Regions from separate parts of the Homo sapiens genome. Here region 1 is linked to region 2. The links are contacts of gene promoters, found by promoter capture Hi-C in human tissues and cell types (Jung and others, 2019). All regions are on one chromosome and are shown on one strand. The core of a region is centred on a gene start or on the middle of the fragment in contact, and the rest is flanking DNA. Distances in the headings are between cores, read along the strand shown.

The links. The method cuts DNA at HindIII sites, captures the fragments that hold promoters and counts their contacts. A contact is called where the count stands out against the background at its distance.
Region 1: a fragment that was not itself captured here is called in contact with the fragment with the promoter of POC1A in region 2 in 1 of the 25 tissues and cell types used here (dorsolateral prefrontal cortex).

Annotation. Positions count from the first base shown.
Region 1 is chr3:52,109,213-52,112,442 of GRCh38, forward strand. The region is part of intron 9 of POC1A (POC1 centriolar protein A); the gene reads right to left. Among named protein-coding and RNA genes, the nearest start is that of POC1A, 44 kb to the right of the region's middle. The HindIII fragment of the contact is 6,699 bases long and covers 1-3,230 here.
Region 2 is chr3:52,152,929-52,156,022 of GRCh38, forward strand. POC1A (POC1 centriolar protein A) reads right to left here and starts at 1,495. Exons shown (of 11, transcript NM_015426.5): 1 at 1,427-1,495. The coding sequence starts at 1,444. RefSeq lists enhancers at 888-1,865, 1,866-2,842. The HindIII fragment of the contact is 12,174 bases long and covers 1-3,094 here.

The sequences.
Region 1 (3,230 bases), core at 6-2,505, 44 kb before region 2:
GAAGGAACTATTAATTTCATTGGATGTGATAAGAGCACTGCTATTATATAACTAAGAAATGGCCTTATTTGGAGTAAAAAATGATATATCTGGGATTTTTAAAACCACTCAAACTCTTCTTTAAAATGTGGGGGAAACAGATGAAATGAGATTAGCAGAATGTTGAAGCTAGGTGAGTGGTACATGGGGTTTGTTACATTATTCTATCTTTTGTGCTAGCTTGAAATTTCCACAATACAAAGGTTTTTGTTTTGTTTTGTTTTGTTTAATTAAAACAAACAAACAAAAAAAAAAACCTTCCTGGTGACTGAAAGGAGCTGCGGAGCTGATCCAAGGCAAGTGGGACTCCAAGAGGAAGCTCAGCCACAGGATCACCTCCACTCTGGTGTCCTGGGATTTGCAAGCATAGGAGGCAGATGACTTTGTCTAAGTCCACGGAACGTTCTGACCAGCCTTTAGCACTGCCACAGAGAAAGCCCCTGATGGCAACGAGTACTCAGCGAATCCTGCAGCAATGTCCGGACCTTCAAAGAAACTAATTGTAAGATAATCTCCATGGAAACCATCTATTCTGATTTTTTTTCCATGGCAACCAATAAGAACATAAACACAAGCACTATCCAACACCCTTACACCACATGGCAATGCTGCTGTCCAATCTGGAAAATATAAACCACAAAGGGTTTTTTTCCATTTAAAATGAAAAGAAGTTCTGAAACTTCTAATCTAGGCATGCAGACTCTACCACCCTCTGTTGCCCTGCCACTGCCCACACCACCCCATGTCATCTGCCCCCCAAAACTGACAAATAAGGCCAGAAGGTAGCTTCCTTCTTTTAGTCTGAGACCATCAAAAATGCCAAAAGGAAAGACAGCCCGCCTCTAGCCTCACACACTCAACTTATGCTGCCCACAGACGTGAGAATGCTTTGACTTCCTGAGCATTTTTTATGTGTCAGACACATACTGAGCACCATGGCAAGAGCAAGGCCCCAGCCCTCCAGGGAGAAAAGTTAGGTCTGTAAATAACAGACAACAGGAGAGCGGGGCTGCTCCAGGTAGGAGAGTGCTCCAGGCAGGTGGAGCAGGAAGAACTCACCAGCTGCCAGCCTCCCAAGGAAGCCTGCATGGAGGAGGTGCCATCTGGAAAGAGACTATAAGGATGAGCGCAACAACACTAGGAGCAGTGAATGGTGGCCCCAAAAATCAGTCAGACTTAAGCGACAGGTTTATTTCTACCTGTGGCTCATTTATTTCATTTTCAGGTTTCTGAGCTTAAAAAAATAGAATGAAAACAAAAGAACAAAATAAAAGGGAAGAAAGATCCTTAAATGCCAAAGCCCTCGGTTCTTGTGCACCCTCTCTGCTTTGCAGCAAACAATTGTTACAAGACGATTCTTGTGGCCTCTGTGGGCTCTCCTGTGGAGAGGTGATGATGGGGCTTTAGATTGCCTGTCATCACTATTGGCAAAAAGGCAGTGTCATAGCAGTGGCCCCAGTGTGTGAAGCAAAAGGTCCTTCAAGGCATGCAGCCTGGCTCTGCCTGGGGCCATGTGTGCCTTGTAGGAAAGCATCACAGTGTTGAGACTCCACTTTCTGTCCTGTGACTCAGGTTCATTTCCCCACATGCACATGTGGAAGCTCCAATAACCCTAAGCCCAAGCTTTGGCTGCCAGGGGAAAAGGAAAACCCAAAACAGTTCTGGAACTCTCGAAAGAGATAACGAAGCTCTCAAAGGAGTGTGTGTGCCTGGGTTTATATGCCAAATGTGTACTGATGCACGCAGAGCTGGACCCAAGGGCCTCCAGCCTTTGTCTGAGTTCCTGAGTCAGGTTGCTCTGTCTTCCTGATACTGTGATTGTCTTAATATGCTTTTCCCTGGATGTCTGAGAACACACCTCCCATTGGTTTAAGTCATTAAATAGGCCTTCCTTCCTCAACATCATGAACTCTCCTCTGGAGAGGAACCTACTTGCTTTTAGAATGGATGGAAATTTTTCTAGTGACAGGAAACACCATTAGCCCCTCAAGGGGGCAGTTCAGAGAAGGGAGTTCTGGCTTCCACTCCAACCTTGCCACCTCTACCCTAATCGCTGTTTCAGGGCTTGTCTCTGCTCTTGCTACCTGGAGGCACCTCTTCAAGAGGCTCTGCAGGCCGGGCACGGTGGCTCATGCCTGTAATCCCAACACTTTGGGAGGCCAAGGCGGGCAGATCACCAGAGGTCAAGAGTTTGTGACAAGCCTGGCCAACATGGTGAAACCCTGTCTCTACTAAAAATACAAAAATTAGCCAGGTGTAGTGGCAGGTGCCTGTAATCCCAGCTACTCAGGAGGCTGAGGCAGGAGAATCTCTTGAACTGGAAGGAATAGGTTACAGTAAGCCGAGATCGCGCTATTGCATTCCAGCCTAGGCAAGAATGGCTAGACTCTGTCTCAAAATTAAAAAAAAAAAAAAAAAAAAAAAAGAGGCTCTGCAAATAAGACCTTCATCTGGGGTTCAAATGTTAAGCCATATACACCCAAGCCATCTCTGGCTCAGACAGAGACTCTCACCCATCTGCTTCCCTAAAGTCTAGCAGGCTGTCTGGAGGATGGGAGCTGGCCTAGGCATCCACATGTGCAGGGTGAGAAGTGGGAGACAGGACATCAAGACAGCAAGGGAGACACCAAGGATAACACAGGAGACAGGTGGCCTGGAGAACACAGATTCAAGAATAGGTGACTGGACTAATGGCAGGAGTACTAAGGGGCAGGACAGAAGCTGGGACAGAACAACAGGGCTGGCAGAGGCTCACAGCAGAGCCACAGCAAGTCCCATCTTCCTTACTACTGATGTCCTCAGCTGGTAATAAAACCACACGCCTGCCTGTCTGGTTGTAAACAGAGCCTTGGTAGATGCCTTTGGGTTTAAAGGGCCCACGGGGCAGCACTGGACTTTCTTTCTTGCTTTCCTTCTTTTTGAGACAGGGTCTCACGCTGTCACCCAGGCTGAAGTGCGGTGGTGCAATCATAGTTCACTGCAGCCTTGAACTCCTGGGCTCATGCAATTCTCCCGCCTCAGCCCTGAATAGCTGGGACTACAGGTGCATGCCACCAAGCCTGGCTGGGCTTTCTTTAAACAGTACACTGAGATTAGAACTCAGGTTGGCTGGGCGTGGTGGCTCACACCTGTAATCTCAGCACTTTGGGAGGCCAAGGTGGGTGGATCACCTGAAGTCAGGAGTTCAAGAC
Region 2 (3,094 bases), core at 245-2,744:
CCATTCATATGAAAAGTTCAGAATAGTCAAATCTATAGAGACAGAAAGTATTAATATATTAGTTTGCCAAGGGTTGGGAGAAAATGGGGAAAGAGAAGAAATGGTATGACTGTTATTGAGTATGGAGTTTCTTTTTGGGATGATGAAAATATTCTGGAATTAGTGATTACAGTTGCACAACACTGTGAATGTACTAAAAACTACTGAAATGTACACTTTAAAAGGTGAATTCTGTGGTGTATGAATAACTTAATAAAGTTAAAACACCAGAGAGAATACTCCGGAGACTCTCTCCATCCAATAGCAGCTTGTGTCTTAACACTTGAAGGGTTATAATTCAGCCATCCAAACATCTCCCCCTACTCTAAGTATCAGAAACCTCAAAGAAGCATTTTGGGTGCTCCAGGAAGCCCAAAGGCTCCTCCTGGGAAAGGATGTCCTTGGGGCACAGCAAAGCCACTGCCACCCTACAGAGCAGTAACCAGAACAAAGGCCCTATGGCCTTGTGCCCAGCTCCACCCCTAACGCACCTGTCAGAGTCTCCTTTCAACAACAGAGGGAGGAGCAGCTGGGGGAGGGTCCCCAACAGAGCCTTCTGCTCTCACCTAAGCTTCTTGAAAGAACATGCGTAAGAGAGTGTCCGCCCCTAGGCTCAGTGGGCAGAGGCAAGTTCAGGTCCACCCCTGACCAGTAGGTCCCATGGTATCTCTCAACACCGCCTCCCCTCTGTAGTTCCCTGCATGTGGGCCTCATCTCCCTCAACAGTGGTTTATACATGAGGGGACAGGAAGGGAGGTAGAGTACCAGATTAGGAGTCAAAAGGTCTGTATCCTAGCCTGGAATCTCCGTCCATGTCCTCAAGTGCCTCAGGGCATCACAGGCTACCACCCAGCCTCCCTGACTCTCCAATCAGCCAGAGGGCCTTGCCCGTTCAAAGGAATCTCTCGAAATGAGGACTTCTGGAGGAATGTGAACTCAGAGAGGGCGGCTCCGCCCCGCTCACACTGCAGGCCCGGGCATCCCAGCGTCCTGCTGTACCTACCTGCTGGAGCAGGGTGTACCCTCAACAAGACCCCACGCAGCCACCCACTGCTAAGGACGTGGAGAATGGCTAGAGAGGCCCGATACCGGCCCCAGGTCACACATGAGTCGGGACTTGGTCGTGTGTCCCTCGCTAGGATGCAAACTATGGAGGCAGAGGCCTGTTTGTTCGCTCCAGAAACCCAGCGCAGGGCCTGGCACGCAGGAGGCGCTCAGAAAGTGCCCGACCCAGCGCCCCCTGCGCAGACAGTAAACTGGACCTGAAGAGGACCACCCTGGAACCTGGCGCCCCGCCCGCCCCTCGCAGCCATCGCTCTGGCCATTAGGCGCCCAGTGTCCCAGCGGGGAGACTGAGGCCTGGGGAGTTGCTCTCGGCTGGGCTTACCGCGCAGGGCGCAGCCATGGCGGGGCTGGCGGCGCCGAAGGCAGCTGCGGTGGCCGTTGCGGCCCGTTCAGTTTCCGCGCCCCCAACGGCCACCAATAGCAACGCGGGCCGCGTCGGCACGCCCCGCCCACCGCAATTAAAGGAGAAGCGCCTCAGCTTTTTGCCCGACGACTGGAAGCAGAGCTGTATGACCGGCGGCCGGCGCCACGGTCTCCGTGCCCAGTTCCCCAAGCCCAGACAACCCACAGACAGCGCAGCCAAAAGCCTCTGTCCGCCGCCACTCGTTCCGCCTGAGAAATTAAAAGACCCAGGATGAAGGGTTCACCCCACCAGCCCGTCGTCCGGCTACTCTAACGGCGAGCGCAGCCTCCTGGGAAATGCAGTTCCAAGCCGCCCACGCCCCTATGTCTGGAGGAAGGTGGAGCTACACTTCCCAACATGAGATTGCACCATTGCATTCCAGCCTGGGCAACAAGAGGGCGGGCCGGGTTTTACCACCCGAAGCGACGGCCTTAAGGATCCCGGAAGCGGAGGACACGTGGGTTGCTGTAACCAGATTGCGTTAAAGCACCCGCGCGCGCCGGCGCAGCCAGATTTTCCCCGCAGGAACCTATTGAGAGCTGAGTATTCGCCCCTCGGGAACTCTCAGTGGTTCGCCGTCCGAACGTTCTTAAGACAAGTGTCGATTTAAAATAACATGAGTTACTCGGAATCACAATCATGGAGTGGAGAGATCAAGGTTCGATTCTCAGTTCTCGCCCTGATTGGCTGTGTGATCTCAGGAAAAACGCCTCTGCTCTGTGCCCCGGTTTCCCCATTTGTAACACGAGGGAGTGTGGTGCAGCCCGGCCCTGTCAGGATCCTTAAGGCCTCAGAAGCTGTTAGAAACCCAGTCTTTAAAAGAAGGAGAGGCCGGGCTCAGTGGCTCACGCCTGTAATCTCAGCACTTTGCCACTTTGGGAGGCCGAGGTGGGTGGATCACCTGAGGTCAGGAGTATGAGACCAGCCTGGCCAACATGGTGAAACCCCATGTCTACTAAAAATACAAAAATTAGCCGGGCGTGGTGGCACGCGCCTGTAAACCCAGCTACTCGGGAGGCTGAGGGAGGAGAATTGTTCGAACTCCGGAGGCAGAGATTGCAGTGAGCCTAGATGTTGCCGCTGCACTCCAGCCTGGGCAACAGAGGGAGACTCCGTCTCAAAAAATATATATATATATAAAATAAAATTTGAAGGCCACCAGCAACCATCTGAATAGACTCCCTGCTTGGCCAGGGCACTCAAATTTAACCTGAAAGAGTGGTTCAGGCCATGATGGGAAGTGGGGGTTGGACATGCCTCATTATACCCTCCAGCATTAACATCAACAAAAACCTTAAGTCTGATAAGAAACATTTACGATCTATTTTCTCTGAAACCTGCTACCTGGAGGCTTCATCTGCATGGTAAAACCTTGGTCTCCATAACCCCTTATCTTAACCGAGATATCCCTTTCTACTGATAATAATTATTTCAACCAATTGCCAATCAGAATATGTTTAAATCTACCAATGACCTGGAAGTTTCCCACTTCGAGTTGTCTTGTCCTTCCAGATCAAACCAATGTAAATCTTACATGTATTGATTGATGTATTTTGTCTCCCTAAAATGTATAAAACCATGCTGTGC